2 separate regions of the Homo sapiens genome follow, and region 1 is linked to region 2. The links are contacts of gene promoters, found by promoter capture Hi-C in human tissues and cell types (Jung and others, 2019). All regions are on one chromosome and are shown on one strand. Each heading gives the region's core, a stretch centred on a gene start or on the middle of the fragment in contact. The rest is flanking DNA. Distances are from core to core; before and after follow the strand shown. Region 1 overlaps LIN54 (lin-54 DREAM MuvB core complex component). Region 2 holds the start of COQ2 (coenzyme Q2, polyprenyltransferase).

The links. Contacts are between HindIII fragments. The study calls those that stand out against the background at their distance.
Region 1: a contact is called between a fragment that was not itself captured here and the fragment with the promoter of COQ2 in region 2, in 1 of the 25 tissues and cell types used here (lymphoblastoid cells).

Annotation. Positions count from the first base shown.
Region 1 is chr4:82,973,761-82,978,032 of GRCh38, reverse strand. All of the region lies in intron 3 of LIN54 (lin-54 DREAM MuvB core complex component), which reads left to right. Among named protein-coding and RNA genes, the nearest start is that of LIN54, 35 kb to the left of the region's middle. The HindIII fragment of the contact is 6,222 bases long and covers 1-4,272 here.
Region 2 is chr4:83,282,664-83,286,584 of GRCh38, reverse strand. It overlaps COQ2 (coenzyme Q2, polyprenyltransferase), which reads left to right and starts at 1,787. Exons shown (of 7, transcript NM_001358921.2): 1 at 1,787-2,073. The coding sequence starts at 1,821. RefSeq lists enhancers at 1,655-1,949, 2,145-2,384 and a silencer at 1,755-2,084. The HindIII fragment of the contact is 4,297 bases long and covers 1-3,921 here.

The DNA of each region.
Region 1 (4,272 bases), core at 1,773-4,272, 310 kb after region 2:
TCCTCAAGATGAAGTCCATGACCCATCCTATTGCTCTCTTGTAAACGCCATTGATTGTCTTTTTCCAGTCTCTTTCTCTAATGGCTTGGCTAAGTCCAACCCTCCTATTCCTTGTTTGGCTAGCAGCTCAAGTTTTTTAGAGAAAAGCACACAGCCAAGTGATTGGTCTTTAATCCAGAGCCATACTAAATGACTCTTTCACTAGTTATAGGATCATTTCTAATTTCTACTGTGCTAAAGGCTTATATGAAAGCACCTCTGGATGGTAAACTTTTGACTAGAGACTTTCAAATCCTAATTACCCATCCCTAGACTGTGTATTCTTGATGAGGGTACTCAAATATTAACTGATCATTCCTAGCATGTATATTAAAACCATCTGTCTTTAATAAATTTACAACATAGCGGTAGGCAACTTGGAAATCAGTGGCAGTGACTTGTCATTTTCCTGAGGCTTTGATTTGTATGTAGGCTTGATTTGTATTTGTATGTAGAGAGGCTTCTCATTTTAGCTAATGAGAAGAGATGGAAAAATTTAATGTGAAAGCAGTGTTAGGTGAGTGACTATTCTCTTTCTCTTGGTGCTCAGTAGAGATTTGTGACAGTATAGGAAGCTGATGTCTTGAGAGATGTCATGGGAGGCAGGGGGGCCCCAAAGAAAATACTGGAAAGGGTTTGGGTTTGGAGCTGATTTAGGAAGTGGGCTGCAGTTGGCTATAAGTAAACAAGGCTTGGAAGTATTTATGAAAAAGAAAACACCAGTCCCCTTGGAGATTTTTGTATAGGTAGAGGGGCTTAACCAGGAGTGTTTTAATGGGATGTTCTTTACTGTTTTGAGTCTCTGAAGAGACTCTGAGAGAGTCCCTGAAAAGTTTTAGTTAATGGGAAGGAGAAGGTATGGGTTGTATGGTAAACAATTGTGGTGTTCGCGGAAGTGTCTGAATGAATTTTTGGTTATTGTCAAGAGTTCACCGTGACTATCATAGACTTTTATAAATGTCATTGCTTGGTCTTTGGGTTGTTTATGTGTTGCAGACCGATTGTAACTTTATTTTTTAATTGTGCATGGACTTAATAGCCCTACCAGAATACATAGAGATATACTTCTGTTAAATTTTACTAGCATTGTTGGCATTAAGTTCAGTTTGGAGGGATAATTTCTACTTTTAACTAGTTCTTTATAACCTTTAAAAATTCACATATGCTAAATTTTAAACCACCAAAGTGCCTTTCTGTTGAATTGTATCACAAGGAGATTCCATCATCTTTATGTATACATTGCAGCTAAGACTGCAGTCTTTTTCCATGCAGCTAGTCTTTTTTTTAAGACGGAGTCTCGCCCTGTCACCGAGGCTGGAGTGCAGTGGTGCTATCTTGGCTCACTGCAACCTCCGCCTCCTGGGTTCAAGCGATTCTCCTGCCTCAGCCTCCCGAGTAGCTGGGATTACAGGCGCCCACCACCACAACCAGCTAATTTTTGTATTTTTAGTAGAGACGGGGTTTCACCATGTTGGCCAGGCTGGTCTCGAACTCCTGACCTTGTGATCCACCTGTCTTGGCCTCCCAAAGTGCTGGGACTACAGGCATGAGCCACTGCGCCCTGCTAGCTAATGCTCTTTCAAAGTACCTTGAGATTTTTTTTTTTTTTTTGATGATTTTTGGGCTTCTCATTGAAGATGACTATCTTTTTCTATGTTTCAGTCAAGATGATTTTATATTTGTGTATAAGCGATTTTTCTAAAATGCAAATCTGAACTTGTCATACCCTTGCTTAAAATTTTCTTGGCCTTGTTCATTTCTTCACCTGGACCCATCAGGATTAAGTTCAAATGCCAGTGCTTTCTTAGCATTAAAGGCATTTAGGATCTAATGCATGCCTTTTGATTTTCACCTTCAAAATAGTAGCTCCAAACCTACTGATTTAACTTATTGTAAGAGATCACCATATGGATCTAAACTAAGTTGTAGGACTAAGGGTCTTGGCAAGGTTCCTTTTACATGGAATGCCTTTCTTTGCCGTTCCTTGCGGCTGACTCATCCATTTTATCTCTTAGATTACCCATCTTGGAAGTTTTTGACTTCTAGGTTTAATCAGATACTCTTTCTCTGATCATTTCCTATTTATTTCCATAAAACTTGGTTATACTTACCAAGTACTTATCTTAAACTTCTGTTAAATTTCACACTGGCTTTGAGTTATCCATTAGTCATACTGTATTATAAATCTTGGTTTTCTTGTCTGTCTCCCCATACCCCTTATGATTTTTCATGATGGTAGTTTTTTTTGTTTTTTTGTTCATCTAGCTCTCTTTTTTTTTTTAGATGGAGTTTTCGCTCTTTTTGCCCAGGCTGGAGTGCAATGGCGCGATCTCGGCTCACTGCAACATCCGCCTCCTGGGTTCAAGTGATTCTCCTGTCTCAGCCTCCTGAATAGCTGGGATTACAGGTGCCTGCCACTATGCCCGGCTAATTTTTTGTATTTTTAGTGGAGACGGGGTTTCACCATGTTGGCCAGGCTGGTCTCGAACTCCTAACCTCAGCTAATCCGCCCACCTCAGCCTCCCAAAGTGCTAGGATTACAGGCATGAGCCACCGCGCCTGGCCTCATCATGTAGTTCTTTTAAAAAACTTATTTTTAAAAAATTGTGGTAAGATATACATAACACAAAATTTACCATCTTAACTTTTTTTTTTTTTGAGATGCAGTTTCACTCTGTCACCCAGGCTGGAGTGCAGTGGCGTGATCTCAACTCACTAAGTGATTCTCCTGCCTCAGCTTCCCAAGGAGCTGAGACTACAGGCACACTCCACCACATCCGGCTAATTTTTGTATTTTTAGTAGAGAAGGGGTTTCACCATTTTGGCCAGGCTGGTCTTGAACTTATGACCTCAAGTGATCCACCTGCCTCAGCCTTCCAAAGTGCTGGGATTACAGATGTGAGCCACTGCACCCAGCCTCATGTTAACTGTTTTAAGTGTATAGTTCATTGGCATTAAGTACATTCACATTGTTATACAACCATCACCACCATCCCGTCTCTAAAACTTTTTCTTTTTGCAAAACTGAAATCTTGTGCCCATTAAACAAAAACTCCTTATTCTTCCTTCCCCAATCCAGCTTCCGGCAGCCACCATCCCACTTTTGTATCTACGTTTTTGCTTTTTTTTTTTTTTGAGACAGTCTGTCACTCTGTCACTCAGGCTGGAGTGCAGTGGTGTGATCTTGGCTCACTGCAACCTGTGCCTCCCGGGTTCAAGTGATCCTCCTGCCTCAACCTCCCAAGTAGCTGGGATTTAAGATGGAGTCTCAGTCTGTCGCCCAGGTTGGAATGCAGTGGTGCGATCGTGGCTCACTGCAACCTCTGCCTTCTGGGTTCAAGTGATTCTCTTGCTTCAGCCTCCCAAGTAGCTGGGATTACAGGTGTGTGCCATCACGCCCGGCTAATTTTTGTATTTTTAGTAGAGATGGTGTTTCACCACGTTGGCCAGGCTGGTCTCGGACTCCTGACCTCAGGTGATCTGCCCACCTCGGCCTCCCAAAGTGCTGGGATTACAGGTGTGAGCCACCACGCCCAGCCATTGCCCTTTTTTTTTGATTGGCTTATTTCACTTAGCATAATGTCCTTAAGGTGCATTTGTGTTGTAGTATATATCAGAATTTTCTTTTTAAGGCAGAATTATGTTCCAATGTATTTATGTATGTACTGTATTGATGGTTCTTTTATCTTGTTTCTCTCACTCTTTCTCTTTCTCCTCTGTCCCCACCTTCCCAGAACCTAGCACAATTTTTGGCACCTTTTTTTTTTGGTTTGTTTGTTTTTTTGAGAGGGAGTTTTGCTCTGTCACCCAGGCTGGAGTGCAGTGGTGCGATCTCGGCTCACTGCAAGCTCCGCCTCCTGGGTTCACGCCATTCTCTTGCCTCAGCCTCCCAAGTAGCTGGGACTACAGGTGCCTGCCACCACACCCAGCTAATTTTTTGTATTTTTAGTAGAGATGGGGTTTCACCGTGTTAGCCAGGATGGTCCCAATCTCCTGACCTCGTGATCCACCCTCCTTGTCCTCCCAAAGTGCTGGGATTACAGGCATGAGCCACTGTGCCCTGCTCCTATTTTTGGCACTTTGATGTAGTTCTGTGAATGCATATTGTTGCATGAATATGTATATCATGGAGGCACTATAGTGATACAGTAGGAGCTATTGGGAAACTTGGGTTTTCAGTCATGGGTCTTCTGTTGATTTTCTCTATGATCTTCGGTAAATACATTATTTTGT
Region 2 (3,921 bases), core at 538-3,037:
CCAGGGCCTACGCTAAGAAGGACCTTGTACTTGGTTTAATGTCCTGCTGTTGCCATCTTGAAATTCTTAATATATTTTTTTAAACAAAGAGTTTGGACCTATATTGGAAAGTCATGGATGCAATACATGACTGATATTACACCCTTTTCAGGTTTGAGTCAGATCTAAATCATCTCCAATCTAACAACTAGGAGTGTTACTAAATTGCCTGCTGGCCTTTATTCTTTGCAGGCAGGAGAAAGGCTAGGTACCCCCTGCCTCATTGCACCAAAGTGGCCAGGCATCCAACTTGCTGTACTTGAGCCATGCAAGAAGTCACAGAATCATTGTACATGTTTTACAGAAAGGAGCCTAAAGACTAAGTCAACTTCCTAGAATATTAAAATCCAGATGAGTGACTTGCCTAGGGTTACTCAGTGAGAGGTTAAATGAGTTGATACATGTAAAGTGCCTGGCACACAGCGATATACAGAGTTGCTTATGAATAAGAGTACTGACCATCTGAGGCAGGAGGATCTCTTTAGCCCAGCTGTTCAAGACCAACCTGGGCAATATAGTGAGACCTCCTCTCTATGAAAAATTAAAAATTAGCCAGCCACGGTGGCTCGTGTCTGTGGTCCCAGATATTTAGAATGCTGAGATGGGAGGATCGATTGAGCCCAAGAGGTGGAGGCTGCAGTGAGCCATGATCCCTCCACTGGTCTCCAGCCTGGATGACAGAGCAAGACTCTGCTGACCAGACTTTTCAGCTTCAGGTTCTTAGCATCACACATGCTGGTTGTCTACTGATTACAAAAACTCCTTTGAAGGGCTGTCAAATTTAAAATTTTCACTTGTGTAATGAACATCCCTTAACCCTGAATGCGATTTTAATTTACAGTCTTGTATGTGGCCACTTGGTGCCCTTTTTTTTTTTTATGGCTAAACGTGTACGCAAATTCTTCTTTTGGATTCAGTAGGTTTTTCAAAGCTTTTTTTTTTTTTTCCTGGTACAACTGTTCCATATGAATAAACACTATCCTTTTCATTTTATGGAGAAAGCTGATAATAGGGTTAAATTATAGGGGGCCATTGTTTTGAACTAAGTTCCTGCACTAGGTCCCAACAGATCAGACTAAGAATCAAGAGTCACCCATGCTAAAGTTCCAAGTCACCAAACTAAAACTAAGTTGTATCTGACATTCTGAGAAGTCAGGAAAGAGAGACAACAGCCAATTTTCCAACCAGGCCATTTCAAAATGCAATCGTCATGACAATTAAGTTTCCTGTTTTAGTCCTTAACCTGGTGTAACCTAATGTTAACCAATCCGTTATTTCTCTGTTGTTGTTTCCCTGTCCCCGCCTCGCAATGAAAGTAATTTGAAGTGACCAATCCGCTTTTTGTTCTCTGCTTCTGCTTTCTTCAGCCCTTTTTCTGTCTATAAAGCCAACTTCCTCCGCTCGACTCTTTGGAACACTTATTCTATTTTACAGAATAAGGTGTTGCCCGATTCTATTTTTTGTTTGTTTCCTCAGAGACCCCGTTCTGAGTGTTGCCCGATAATGGAACCACAAAGTCAATCAAGATCGAGTTGTAAAAAATTACAACTAAATTTATTGTAATTTTTTTGCCTTTTGCCAATAGAAATCCCTTTTTCATTAAGTATTCCTCCCTAGAGTAAGCGACCACGATGACCCCAATTTCACAAGTAAGGATGAGGAAAGGTTCTGCCCACACCGCCGCCCAGCCTGGCAGACTAGGATTGCATCCTGCGGGTGCCACTGCGCATGCCTGCCGGGGAATGACGTCAATCCGAGCTCGTCCCGGCCTCACCAGCGCCATGCTGGGCTCGCGAGCCGCGGGGTTCGCGCGGGGCCTGCGGGCTGTGGCACTGGCGTGGCTGCCGGGCTGGCGGGGCCGCTCCTTCGCCCTGGCGCGTGCGGCAGGCGCGCCCCACGGTGGTGACTTGCAGCCCCCCGCCTGTCCCGAGCCGCGCGGGCGCCAGCTCAGTTTGTCCGCGGCGGCGGTGGTGGACTCTGCGCCCCGCCCCCTGCAGCCGTACTTGCGCCTCATGCGGTTGGACAAGCCCATTGGTGAGTGCGGGCGGGCGGGCAGCCCGGGAATTTGCAAGTAGCAGCCTCCGAGTCGGCTCCGCGGAGCTGTCCGCGGCGGCCGGCCGGGGCGTGATGGAAATGAGAACCTGAAAGCTTGGGCTTGGCTGCCGGGTGCCGTGCGCCCTGGGGCGAATCACCTCGGGACACTTTGAAATGAGAGCCTGAAAGCTTGAGCTTGGCTGCCGGCTGCCGTGCGCCCTGGGGCGAGTCACCTCAGGACACGCAGTCGGGACAGTCTCCTAAAGGACCCGCCAGTTTCACGTCTGTCTGCATCCTGAGCACCTGAAGCGGGCAAGATAATTCTCATTCCACAAACACTTGTTTAAATGGTGACTCAAGCGGAAGGTTCCGTTCTCGTGGCCCTCCTTCATTTATTAGAATGTTTGATCCTCCCCGCAATCTTGTAAGGCCCACAAAGACAATCCTTAAGACAGTTAAGACGCTGAGGAAACTAAGGCTCCTCGTCAGAGCCAGACCAGAAGAACTCTGTGTTTTGATGCTGAGTCGGAGCTCTTTTACCTGCATCACCCATAAGGCAAAGATTTAATTCATTTGAACGCAGCAGGGACAGCGCTTACGGACTGCCTGTCAGCTTACAATCGCCCCCGACAGAAAGATTTTCCTGACCTTCCTATCTTAATTAACACCTACCAACCTCACTTTCTATCGCTTTATCCGCAATTTTTCTTAATAGCACTCACCACTAACTAACCTTATGCGCTTGTTGATTGATTGGCTTCTCCAGTAGTGTTAAGTGAATTAATAAGTTCCTACTACGTTGTCCGGCCATAGAGATAGAAAAAGCTATGGAAACCCTTTGCTTTCAAGGAACTCTGGTCTAGTTGAAAAAGACTATTTGGTGAGCTAGGAAAATATGGATCAAATATGAGTGATACAAAAGCAAGTGCTACAGGAAAAAGAGAAATTACTGTGGATCCCTTGCTGGAAAGTTTCGAGAAGAAATTATACTCCAAAGGACAAGTTGATTTTGCAGAGGAGGGAAGAGATCTTAGTGCGGGAAGTACTTTTGCAAAGACCCAAGGGTGGAGTGTTAGAACACTAAGAATACGAGCCTGACCTGGAACACCAAGTGGGTGTGGAAAATGGGAAACGAGACTAGACAAGAACATATCTGAAGAAGCTGGATAGCGTGGAGGAAGAAGTGAAGGATGAACTCCAGCCAATCTAGATGATGACATTTGCCATTGCAGTGTATGGAGATGTAGTCAAAGGCCTAGGTACATTTACTCCACTTTTGCCCGTACAAGACCCGAATTAGGCCTTGCTTTTGGTATTCTAGATTTATGCACGACCTATTTGGGATTAGAGCACTAAGTTATAACAATCAGCTATCAAAGCATAAAAGCCTACTGAATGATAGGTACAGCCCTGCCATCATTGGGAAGCTGTGTATGACCCCCATGAGTTTTGGGGCCACATTCACGTTGAGAGGCATGCATTTCCAAGCCCAGTTCCAATCTGAAGCCTGGCTGTAATTCTGTTCTTGGAGTCTGTGGCATGGAGTGGCAGTGTAGCCTTATAGATGAACATCTGCCATTATTCCCATTTCCCCAGTTAAACCTCTGGCTTCTATCTTAGTGGCTGGACCTTCCGCCATGTAACAGAAGGCAACAAAGGGGTTATGAGCAAAACTTTGGAGCCAAACCTCTTGGATGTGAACCTCCACCCTGCTCATCTGAGGGACCTTGGATAAATTACTTCACCTCTCTGGGCATCCGTTTTTCATCTGTAAAATGAAGATACTATTAATGATAATATGGACGTTATGAGGTCACGAAAATTCATTAATATATGTTAAGTGCTTAG